Linked DNA regions of Homo sapiens: regions 2 and 3 are each linked to region 1. Evidence: promoter capture Hi-C in 16 types of primary human blood cells and fetal thymus (Javierre and others, 2016). All regions are on one chromosome and are shown on one strand. Each heading gives the region's core, a stretch centred on a gene start or on the middle of the fragment in contact. The rest is flanking DNA. Distances are from core to core; before and after follow the strand shown. Region 1 holds the start of ATXN1L (ataxin 1 like). Region 2 has its middle 7.6 kb from the start of TAT-AS1. Region 3 overlaps LOC124903709 (a long non-coding RNA gene).

Evidence for each region. Contacts are between HindIII fragments. The CHiCAGO score rates a contact against its expected background, and 5 or more counts as called.
Region 2: a fragment that was not itself captured here is called in contact with the fragment with the promoter of ATXN1L in region 1 in 1 of 17 cell types (total CD4 T cells); the score reaches 5.4 in total CD4 T cells.
Region 3: a contact is called between a fragment that was not itself captured here and the fragment with the promoter of ATXN1L in region 1, in 2 of 17 cell types (naive CD4 T cells and total CD4 T cells). The highest score is 5.1, in naive CD4 T cells.

The regions. Positions count from the first base shown.
Region 1 is chr16:71,844,337-71,848,531 of GRCh38, forward strand. ATXN1L (ataxin 1 like) reads left to right here and starts at 1,640. Exons shown (of 3, transcript NM_001137675.4): 1 at 1,640-1,768; 2 at 3,674-3,735. RefSeq lists enhancers at 712-1,484, 1,218-1,267, 1,485-2,256, 2,058-2,127 and a silencer at 1,528-1,837. The HindIII fragment of the contact is 5,556 bases long and covers 1-2,182 here.
Region 2 is chr16:71,555,455-71,559,442 of GRCh38, forward strand. No RefSeq gene overlaps it. Among named protein-coding and RNA genes, the nearest start is that of TAT-AS1, 7.6 kb to the right of the region's middle. The HindIII fragment of the contact is 1,395 bases long and covers 1,015-2,409 here.
Region 3 is chr16:71,467,052-71,471,078 of GRCh38, forward strand. LOC124903709 (a long non-coding RNA gene) reads left to right here. Exons shown (of 2, transcript XR_007065105.1): 2 at 1-1,664. Among named protein-coding and RNA genes, the nearest start is that of ZNF23, 6.8 kb to the left of the region's middle. The HindIII fragment of the contact is 518 bases long and covers 1,515-2,032 here.

The sequences.
Region 1 (4,195 bases), core at 390-2,889:
TGCATGCCTATCATCGCACCTACCCCAGAGGCTGAGGTGGGAGGACTGCTTGAGCACAGGAATTTGAGGCTGCAGTGAGCTAAGATGGCACCACTGCACTCTAACCTGGGCGACAGGGCTAAAAAAAAAAAAAAATTATATGTACACACACACACACACATACACGCAACTGCAATGACATATCTTTTTTTTTCTTTTTTTTTTTTTAAGACGGAGTCTCACTCTATTGCCCAGGCTGGAGTGCAGTGGCACGATCTCGGCTCACTGCAAGCTCTGCCTCCCGGGTTCATGCCATTCTCCTGCTTCAGCCTCCCGAGTAGCTGGGAGTACAGGTGCCCGCCACCATGCCCGGCTAATTTTCTGTATTTTTAGTAGAGACGGGGTTTCGCCGTGTTAGCCAGGATGGTCTGCGATCTCCTGACCTCGTGATCCGCCGGCCTTGGCCTCCCAAAGTGCTGGGATTGCAGGCGTGAGCCACCGCGCCTGGCCCAATTGTTATTTATTGAACAGAGTTTGAAGAAACTGAAAGTCTCCATTTCGGTGGCCAAAACCGCAATTACTTTTGCACCAACCTAATACTTTAAAACAAACAACAACAAAAACACAGTTGTTATTCAAACATAAATTCAACTGGCGCTCACTTTTGTCTTCACTTAAGTTAATCAGATGTTCATGTTACTATGAAGTTGACCAGTTAATTTGTAATGAATAATTAGTTAATTTGTAATGAATAATATTTCACTGAGTAGTCAAGCCCTCTTTCCACTAAACCAAGCTGCTTCTCACTGTACTAAACCCCGGGCTCTCTCTAAACTTTCAGGTGTTCCACTCCTTGTCACCTTCCCCTAGATCCTGAGTGGGGTTCACTCTTAGCTCCCTCGGGGGCCACTTCTCAACACTTACAGAGCTCCTATTGACCTGGCACGGTGGCTCACGCCTGTAATCCCAGCACTTTGGCAGGCCGAGGTGTGGGGATCACCTGAGGTCGGGAGTTCGAGACCAGCCTGACCAGCAAGGAGAAACCCTGTCTCTACTAAAAATACAAAAAATTAGCCAGGTGTGGTGGCGCATGCCTGTAATCCCAGCTACTCGGGAGGCTGAGATAGGAGAATTGCTTGAACCTGGCAGGCGGAGGTTGGGTGAGCCGAGATCGTGCCATTGCACTCTAGCCTGGGCAACAAGAGCGAAACTGTCTCCAAAAAAAAGAAAGAAAAGAAAAAAAGAAGACTTCCTATCTCCACCTGGGTCCCCAAGAGGTAAGAGGTATCTCCTTTTCTCCTGAGCCTAGGTCACCTCGGGGTCCCCCGAAGTTCCCCAGAAGGGGCTGCACAAGTCAGGACAAGAAGTCCAGGAAATGGGGGGTCGCCGATGACCACGCCCCGGGGCTCTGTTTGGGAACCCCCAAAATTTACTGAGGTGGAAAGATTGCGGGGTCATTGTGGGGTCAGGCTGAGGGGGCCGGGCCCAGCCCTATTCACGTGACCCGGTCCCAGGGAGAGGAGTTTGTTCACCCACCAGAGGGAACGCCCGACGCGAAGGCAGTGTGGCACCCTCCCTTCCCGGGGAGTCCTGGGCGTTGCTCTCCCACCCCGGCCGTGACGCAATCTCTCCGCGCCGGGGGCGGGACGAGCTTGACGCCATCTCCGGGCGCCCGGCTGTGGGGGGCGCTGGGTGTGGGGCGGCTCCGGGGCCGGGGATGGCGGCGGCCGCGGTTGCGGCGGCTCCGGGACGAGTGAGTGGATCCTGGGAAGCGCTGTGAAATGGGCTGGTGAGTGTCCCTGGAAGTGGTGGCCGCCGGGGCCAGGCAGGCCTGGGGTCGGTGCTCCGGAGGAAGTGGCCCTCAGGAGCCCGTTGCTCCGGCGGGCCGGGGCCCATGAACCGTGGACAGACGGAGGGGAGAGGCCGCACCTAGACCCCCTCGCGCTTCTCTCTGGCCTGTCCTGGAAGGTGGCCTCAGGCCCCGGCGCCCCGGAGGCTGTGTGCCTGCGAGCCAAGGTGTCCGAGTCTGTGGGGCGGGAAGGGCCCCCAAACAAGGAAGCGTCGCCTGCAGGGCCTCGCCCCTGCCCCCTTGGTGAAGGGTGGACCCCCTACTCTCTAAACGCAGAATTCCCAATTTCGAGCCCTACCCTTGTTGGATCAAGGATTGCGGGACCACTGGGAGCCATAACCGTAGTCTCTGACAAGCTTCTCCCTTTCTGTCGGGCGCACCTCTCGCCCGCAGAGAATTTGGGTCTCCAGCTGGGTTCAGCCCCTTGATTCCGACCCAAGCGTGATGAGGAGCTTGGTTCCGGGCTCTGCTAGCAGCGTTGGCAACTCTCCTGAACAGCCTGTTAGCTCGGTTGGGGTCACAAGCTGCGTTTTCCCTTTGAGATGCTCAGTGAGGTTCTCGAGAGGCGGAGGTTTCGGATTCTTAAGTGTGTTTTGCGTTGTGGGAACCTGGCGCACAGGCTTGGCTCTTTGTTTTCCTTTCTGCAGACCTTTTGCCTCTTTCGGTCCCTTTACTAGCCTGTGTTTGCTAACTTCTCGGTGACCTGGAGGCAGGTTTTCTTTAAAGTTTTCGTTACAGAAAGCAAGGATCATTTTGGGATTGAAGTGTGACCCCAGTTTCTGTTGGGAATGAAGAAGAAAGCAAGCTGCTTTTCAGTTATTAAAGCTGCTGGTGGAGAAAAGAGTCATTATTTATGCCACTGTGTAATAATATGTGTTTGTGGAATTAGGAATTTGTTTTCCCACTGTGTTTTCCTATCCTTCCACCTTTTGTGTACACCTGCACCTTGCCAATCTTAAGAGAGAAATGTTGCATTCGGTTTGGGTTGAGGCTTAGAGTGTTCTATAGGACTTGGACAGGATAGTCAGTTTCTCAGAGCACTCACTCATCTGTACTGCCTTCTCTGTTTTCAGAGGTTAAGGCTCCATTCTTTCTCGCTTTGCGTTTCTGGCAAGTGTAGATTCACATAGTGATGGTTTAGTGGTAGTTTTGTTTCACCAGTGTTAGCCAGCTGAGGACCAAGGCAATATTTTCAGTTTCTTTCATACCTGATTCAGCACTTGGTATACTGTCACTCAGAAAATTTTACATACACACACACATATGCTCATTTTTTTTTAACCCTGAAAATCTCTTAATAAGTCTTCTCCTTGAGTGACTCCCCCCTGACCTCTTTTTCTGCCCCAGAAACATAAATAATTGTTCTTTTTCATCTACTGCTGCTTTTTTTCATTTAAATAACTCCACATTTATGTTTTCATAGGCCCAGAATAAAGGGGAAATCCATAGAGTTGATTTTTCCTGCTTCCCATTGTTCATATGGGAACAGTGTTAAAGCTTCCATTTTTATTTGTGCGTTTATCTGAAATTTGGATTGGAGCAAATTTAACCTTTGGGGAACAGGCACAGGTAGATGTTAGGGAAATGATGTTACGGAAAACCAATGAAATTTGATACATGGAAATTTTTTTTCAGGGATGTCTTCTTACAAGTTGGAGCATTAGAGGTGTTTTTCTCTCTGTTCAACTGCCTGGGCACTCTGGGTAAATGTACTGTTTACCTGTGGAGAAGAAGATGAGGCAAGGACGTGTATACTCTAATGCTTTGGAATTACCTTTCATGGTGACCCTGGGGAGAATTAGAGGTCAGGCAGCCGCTTACTCCATTCCTGTTTCTATCTTCTAGGCTCCCGAGCCAGCCGGGAGGACACTTACTACAGCTGCTCAGAAGCACCACTGGAAACTCAGGTAATACCGGCACTTTGAATTCCTTGTTTCAGGAAAATATCTGGGATGTCACAGTGGAAAAACAGAACAGAATGTAATATAGAAAGCTCTTTTCAGATCCAAAGAACTGGAACCTGGTTGGAAGAAATAGGCAGCAAAGTTCATGTGCACTGAAGTGTTCAGACCAAAAAGTTGCTTTATAACAATGGACAAAAGCATTTGTGAAAGGTGACAATAAGAGAAAAGGGAAAGAGAACTTTCTTATGAATCATACAGATACGGGGAAAAAAACAGGCATGTTTAGAGGAATGGAACCAGAATTTCATGGAGTGGTGCCTGGAGCAGACCTACAGTGGAGAAGGAGCTATTGGTAAAAGAAAGCACAAAGAAAAAAGAAAGGGAATGAATAGAGAAGGCAAATTGAAGGTGATCATTGAGAAGAAGCCTTTTGAGACTAGGGAACCGGAAGTGTACGTAAGGT
Region 2 (3,988 bases), core at 462-2,961, 290 kb before region 1:
AGAGATTAAAGGGCTGTAAAATGTCCAGGTGTCAGATTGTGAGCCAGTTGGAGGGTGAGCAGCTTGCAGTTAGTAAATTACATGTTAGGGATTAATAATCCTAAAATAGTCTAGTTCAAGTGATGACAAGGAACACAGGTGTGGCTTTGGGAGTGGGGCCATTGTGGGGTAGATTGTACAGCTCCTCATGTTTGGAATAAGCAAGAGGCCTTGAGGTTAGAGTGTGGGTGAGGCTATCCACAGAGATGTTGAAATTTCCCAAGTGTTGAAATTTCCCATGTATCAGGCCCTAAATAAATAAGGGAGTGTGCACAGAAAGGATATAAAGTAATTCAGCACATGTTTTAAAGGAAGCTGGTTATTGTGTGAGTCTGGGGGAGTATAGATATGAAAAAAGACAATAAGTTAGAGTCTGGGCTATGTGGGAAAAAAAGCTATTTCAAACAGTGAGTTGGCCGGGTGCAGTGACTCACGCCTGTAATCCCAGCACTTTGGGAGGCCAAGGCAGGCAGATCATGAGGTCAGGAGATCGAGACCATCCTGGCCAACATGGTGAAACCCTGTCTCTACTAAAAATACAAAAATTAGCTGGGTGTGGTGGCACGCACCTGTAATCCCAGCTGCTCGGGAGGCTGACGCAGGAGAATTGCTTGAACCTGGGAAGCAGAGGTTGCCCTGAGCTGAGATGGTGCCATTGCACTCCAGCCTGGCAAGAGAGCGAGACTCTGTCTCAAAAAAAAAAGAACAAACAGTGACTTTAGGGGAAGAGCGAAGTTACAGTTAAGGCAAAGAAGTAACCAGTTTGATGATGGCAGATAATTGTACCTGCTATGGAACAAAGATTTTGGGCAGGGGGAGAACGGAAGGAGGAAACATCAGGATGGAGAGATGTAAGAGAAGTATGGAGACTTCCAAAGCAACATCACAAGAAAGATCATATGAAAATGTTTGGGCTTCAAAACATCTAGATATGATGGATAAAATCTAACAAACGTATTTTCAAATTCAGAGCCAAGCTTGCAAGAGAGTAACAGAATCCCCAAAGAAGCAAAAACAAAGAGGGGCCTGAAAATTTGGAAAATAAGAGTATGCTTATGCTGGTAACATCTCAGTAATCATGGGTTTAGAGTTTAACACTAGTGGAGGAGGACTTAGACCCATGTAAGGCAGGGATTTAAAATTTAGACCTCTCCACAAAGCCAAGCCCTTCCAAATGTTAAGGCTGAGTAACAAGATGGATTATAAAGAAATCTTTCTTATTCTGGCCCCTGGGAAGAAAAAAGAAAACTCTCCCATGACAGTTTGTAAGCATAGGCATTCCTTTACATGGGTTTAGTGTTCAAATGTAACCTACCTGTATGGTCTGGAAACCCCAAAGTTGAGAAATTCACTGAAAAGTGATCCTGATCCATTCCATCAGCAGTTTGTTGTCGTTGTTTTGTTTTGTTTATTTGTTTGTTTTTTGAGATAAAGTCTTGCTCTCGTCCCCCAGGCTGGAGTGTGATGGTGCGATCTCGGCTCACTGCAACCTCCGCCTCCAAGGTTCAAGCGATTCTCCTGCCTCAGCCTCCCCAGTATCTGGGATTACAGGTGCCTGCCACCACACCTGGCTAATTTTTGTATTTTTAGTAGAGATGGGATTTCACCATGTTGGCCAGGCTGGTCTTGAACTCCTGACCTCAGGTGATCTGCCCCCCTGGCCTCCCAAAGTGCTGGGATTACAGGCGTGAGCCACCACGCCCAGCCCCATCAGCAGTTTTAATACTACAAGGAGAGAAAGTCATTGGGGAACCTCTAGCAACCTGCCATATCAGTCAGTATTTTTGTGGCAAAGAAGTATGATCAATAAAATACTTTCAAAGATAAGGATAACGTTAACATAAAACTGGGGTAAAACATAAAACAGAAATACAAGATGAAGAAAGAAAATCATCCTGGCACTTTGGGAGGCCAAAGCAGAAGGATCATTTGAGCCCAGGAGACCAGCCTGGGCAGCATAGTGAGACCCCATCTCTGCAAAAAATACACAAATTAGGCAGGCATGTTGGCATGTAACTATGGTCCGAGCCACTCAGAAGGCTGAGGTGGAAAGATTACTTGAGTCTAGGAGGTCAAGGCTGCAGCGAGCTATGATTGTAATCATGTCATTGCACTCCAGTCTGGGCAACAGAGCAAGATCCTGTTTCAACAACAAAAAAAAGAAGGTAAATTTCTAGTAAATATCCAATATCATCTCTGTTGAAAAATGCATGCTCTAGTTAAATGAACAAGTTAAATGACACCACAAGGAAGCCAACAAACATATCCAGAATGTAGAACATTTTGTAAGACAGCCATTCCTGCAACAAGTCAATGGTATGAAAAGAAAAAAAAAAAAACAGGAGCCTTCTCTAGAGTAAGAGATATTTAAGCTTAAGACATAAAACTAAAAAGTAATGTTTAAACTTTGTTTGAATCCTGATCCAAATAAACCAACTATAAGAAGACATTTTGGAGGCAACCAAAAATATCTTACTATTTGATGTGATGTGGCACTGTGGTTAAGAAATTATGTGTTTAGAGATGTGTACTGAGGCGTATGGGGAGAACTAACGATGTCCAGGATTTGCTTTACAATCTTTTGGCAAAGAAAACAAGAAAAAGAAGGAAGGAACAAAAATGGCAATATCTTGAGAGTCATTAAATCTGAGTGATGGGTATATTGGTGCTAATTATACTACTGCTTCTACTTTTATATATGTTTGAATTTTCAGTCAAGAATTCTAAATTATTTTAGGGAACACATGAACGAAAAAGTGTAAAAACCACTAGTTTATCACACATGCTAATTCTGCTATTTACAGAAACATCTCAGATGTTTTTCTAGAAATTTCTTATTGCTCCCAGTGTGGAAGCCCAACTGACACTTTGCCCTGCTTCCATTATGAAATACCAGAGTCAGGAAAAATAAGCACTTTGTACCCTTAAATGAAACAACAATGATGAGGTCACCCCATCTAGTTCTAGTCCCCAAACTAATTCCTGCAAGTGTGCACTCCTTATCTTTAAAAAACTGAAGTTATCTCTGCCTTTTAGAATGATTATGTCTGAAGTAACATCACAATGTTTGTGACTAGGATGAACATGAGAAAAAGTTACTGTTTTCCACCATGAACAGATAGCTACAAACTGGCAATCTTACATGCTTTTTCTTTTCTTTAAAAACCTAAAAATCCTTTAAATGCCACACAGATATTTGAGTTGATCTCCCTAAAGTCTGACTCCTTTATATCTTTTTTTCCACTCACACAAAAAAAACAGTATTACTGAGACATGATCTACATACCACACAACTCAACCCACTTAAATTGTACAATTCAATGGTTTTTACTTTCTTTAAAGTTGTGTAACCATCACCATTATCAATTTTAGAATATATTCATCACTCCAAAAAGAAACTCTGTACCCATTAGCCATCTCTCTCCATCTCCCACATATGGCCTCACCTCTAGCTCTAGAAGTAACTAATCTATTTTCTGTCTCTATGAGTAATATGATTTGGCTCTGTGTCCTCACCCAAATCTCATGTCGAATTGTAATTCCCAGTGTTGAAGGACAGGCCTGGTGAGAGGTGATTAAATCATGGAGGTGGACTTCCCCCTTGCTGTTCTTGTGATAGAGTTCTCCCAAGATCTGCTTGTTTAAAAGTGTGTAGAACCTCCTCCTACTCCCACTGGCCATGTGAAGATGTCCCTGCTTCCCCTTCACCTTCTGCCATGTGGTAAGTTTCCTGAGGCCTCCCCAGAAGCAGAAAACTATACAGCCTGCAAAACTGTGAGCACAATTAAACCTCTTTTCCTTATGAATTAACCAGTCTCAGGTAGTTCTTCATAGCAGTGTGAGAATGCACTAATACAGAAAATTGGTACTATAGAAGTGGGGCATTACTATAAAGATACCTGAAAATGTGTAAGCAACTTTGCAATTGGATAACAGGCAGAGATTGGAA
Region 3 (4,027 bases), core at 524-3,023, 380 kb before region 1:
GACCTTGGACAACCACTTAGCTTTTCTGAAATTCCAATGATTCATCTGAAAAATGAGATAATAGTTCACAGTTGTTGTAAATACTACACATAATGTTTTGCTTAAAGTACATACAACAGGGACCAGGATTCAGTAGTTGCTCAATTAATGTTAACTTTTCCCCTCCTCTAAATTATTTGTGGACCTGATTACACTTTTTTATTTGTCAGTAATGAAGTTAGTAATGCATAAGTTTGTAAATATGACATATTATAAGTAGGAGAAAGACCTACAGTGCCAAACTCCTTCAAAGTTTTTTGTGCATAACCTCACAGAAACATGCTAACAACAATCAAGTTCGGAAGATTTTTACCACAGAGAAAGCAGATCCAATCCATTGTATGTTTCTGAAAATAGGTTAACAGGTGGGGGTTAGCACGTGAGGAGAGGGCATGAAAAAGAATCAAGCAGCCTGTCTCCAAATGAATACAACATACCTTCTTTCTCACATGTATTGCCTGATAATTTGCTTATATGTGCCTAGGAAGAGCCCTGAGCATTCTTCCTTACATAGTATGACCAGGTATTACACATTTTCCCCTAACTTGAAGGACGTTGGCCTCTGGCATAACACAATGATACTAGGTACCAATCCCATAGACCTCCCAAGGGAATCGGTCCAATTATCAGCTCTGATGCTGAAGTTTCTAGAAGGAAGAGAAAGAATCTCAACCCCCACCGTGTCATAAAGAACCTTGTAAAAGACTGCTGATTTTAGAGGATTACAATTGCCAGGTACACCGGAGTGGAAAGCCCCAAGAAATTAACAGTGACCACTACAACCTGTGTTTAGTGTCATCCAGGTACAAAGGACAGCAGTAGAAAACAGAGAAGCCGTGGTGCTGTCCAAGGTGCTAGCTCCGACTCAGTGGGGGGGGGGGGGGGGGTGTGTCTGTGGCGCTCTCCAAGGTTCTGGGGCTGGCCTCAGAACCATTGTCCTCCAACCTGGTGTGTTGGTCCCCTCTGACTATATATGTGTGTGTGTTTTTGAGGAGTCTCACTCTTGTCACCCAGTCTGGAGTGCAGTGGCACGATCTCAGTTCACTGCAACCTCCACCTCCCGGGTTCAAGCGATTCTCTGGCCTCAGCCTCCCGAGTAACTGGGATTACAGGCGCCCACCACTACACCTGGCTGATTTTTGTATATTTAGTAGAGATGGGGTTTCACCATATCGACCAGGCTGGTCTCGAACTCCTGACCTCAGGTGATCCACCTGCCTTGGCCTCCCAAAGTGCTGAGATTACAGGCATTAGCCACCATGCCCAGCCTCCCTCTGGCTATATTTTAAGCCTGATATCCAAATACTTAATCTCACCCTATTCCTTTCTTTGAATTCATTTGGTCAGAACCTGACACGTATCACCCAGTGCCCCAGTTCCTACTTGTCTTCTCTATCACTCTGCCTCAAAATCCAGAGATTCCAAGGATGATAATTTATTGTGGGCCCAAATGGCTAAGAGAGGCTCTTCTGGGAAGCTTTCTTACATCATATAAATTTTTGTTAACATGAATTATTTGTATTTGAAAGATTTAAAAGACAAGGAAGCTATGTATTGTTCTTGTTGTTAACAATAAATTACCTCAACACTATTTGAACATAATAAAAATGTAATAAAACCTGAAACTTCGTGTGTTCCAATTGCTTTATTCAACTAACTTACACTCCTTTCCTGGTGAGTTACCTTGCATTCAGGTGTTCTGAGCCATGAAAACATTTTTCTTTCTTTTCTCTTTTTTGTAGAGATGGGGTCTCGCTATGCTGCGTTGGCTGGTTTGGAACTCCTGGCCTCAAGGGATCCAACCATTTTAGTCTCCCAAAGTGCTAGGATTATAGACATGTGCCATGATGCCTGGCCCAAAGACATCTTTAATCTGAATTGCACTTCATTAACTATTAGACACATTTATGTTTATTATGTAATGCTTTCTTCACATCCATACTGAAGAAGATCCAGTAGGTATTATATCTATTTTATAGATGAAGAAAAACAAAGCTTACATGTTACAGTCTTTGTAGAACATAGACTGTAGTGGGGGACACAACTTTTAAGTAAATCCACACCTGGATAAATATATTATTGTAAACTTTCATTCGTGTGAGGGAGGTAAAGAGCAAGGTGTTTAGGAGATAATATCAAGGGAATACCATTTTAACTTGGAGGTAAGGAAAGGCCTGAGGAAGTGATCTTGATCTTGGGCTGAGACCTGAAAGATAAGAATGAACTATCTGGGCACATAATCAAGGAGACAGCATTCCAGGCAGGAGGAATAGCATGTGTAGGCCCTTCAGTGGAAAAAAAAAAAAAAAAAAAGCTTGACACATCATGGGGAGAGAGGAGGGAGGAAGTGCTGCGCCATGAAGTCATTAGAGCTTTGCAGGCCATGTTAAAGAGTTTGGATTTTATTCCAAGGTCAATGGAAACCCATTGAAATGTTTTAAGAAAAGCATGTTATGTTCCATATTTTTAAAAGCACACCTGGCTGCTGACTGGCAGATAGATTAGAAGGATTCAAGAGCAGAAGTGGGGAGACTACTTAAGGAGCAATTGTGGTAGTCTAGGAAAGAAATGTTGGTGGCTCAGAACAAGGCAGTAGCACCAGGAACTGGAGAGAAGCTCCATGTTGCTCATCAGTAACATGTTCTGTCATCATGTGCTATCATCTAGCATGTTGCTTAGCACACAGAAGTCACTAAATAAATATTTATTGCCAGGCACAGTGACCCATGTCTGTGATTCCGGCACTTTGGGAGACCAAGGTGGGAGGATTGCTTGGCCTCAGGAGTTCTAGACCAGCCTGGGCAACATAGTGAAACCTTGTCTCTACAAAATATACATAAATTGATGGGCACAATGGCTCACACCTGTAATCCCAGTACTTTGAGAGGCTGAGGTGGGCAGATCACAAGGTCAGGAGTTCGAGACCAGCCTGGCCAATATGGTGAAACCCCATCTCTACTAAAAATACAAAAATTAGCCAGGCGTGGTGGCGCTTGCCTGTAGTCCCAGCTACTCAGGAGGCTAAGGCAGAAGAGTCGCTTGAACCCACGAGGCAGAGGTTGCAGTGAGCCGAGATCATGCCACTGCACTCCAGCCTGGGCAACAGAGCGAGACTCCATCTCAAAAAAAAAATTTATATATATATATAAACTGGGTGTGGTGGCGCATGCCTGTAGTCCCAACTACTAGGGAGGCTGAGGTACGAGGATCACTTGAGCCTGGGAGGGCAAGTCTGCAGTGAGCCATGATCGTGCCACTGCACTCCAGCCTGGGTGGTAGAGCAAGACCCTGTGTCAAAAAAAAAGTTGAGTAATTAATAAAATCATTTATTGTATGTGGCATACTTCTAAGGATTCTTTTATTTGCATGGCTCCAAGTGCTTGTTTTAGTTGATAATCTGAGGGACATGCATTGCCAGGTCCTCCTTACAGGCTGATAACCGTGATATTTACCATGTTTTACCTCCTGGCCACACATAGCTACAGTTATATAAACAACTTAGTCTATCTAAAATTAGGCACTTCAGTGACACACGAAAACGTTGTGCCCCACAGCATAGTTGCTCTGAGAGGAAGCTTCTTTGAAGTAGAAATAAGAAATGTGCAGCCACCACTGAAAACAGAATGGGATTTCATCACAAAAATGCTCATCTGGGCCATCCTCTAACATCTAAAGGATTTCAGTTGAGTAGACTACTAATATTCACTACTAGAATATAAGACACATTCTCATTGCCTGAAAGTTCTGTCTCCCTCTCATTAGTTTGGGTTTCCCTGAAGGCAGGGCTTGAGACAAGGACTCGAACGCACATTTATTCAGGAGATGATCCCAGGAAGCAGTACTAAAAGAACCCAAGGAGTGAGACAGGATAGGAGGAAATGACAATATGAAGTGTTCTAAAGGTTGATGCTATGAGCACTGGGACCTCCAGGAAAGAGTAAAGAATTCCTCCTCTAATTGTCCACTTGAAAGATGGGAAACTGGAACC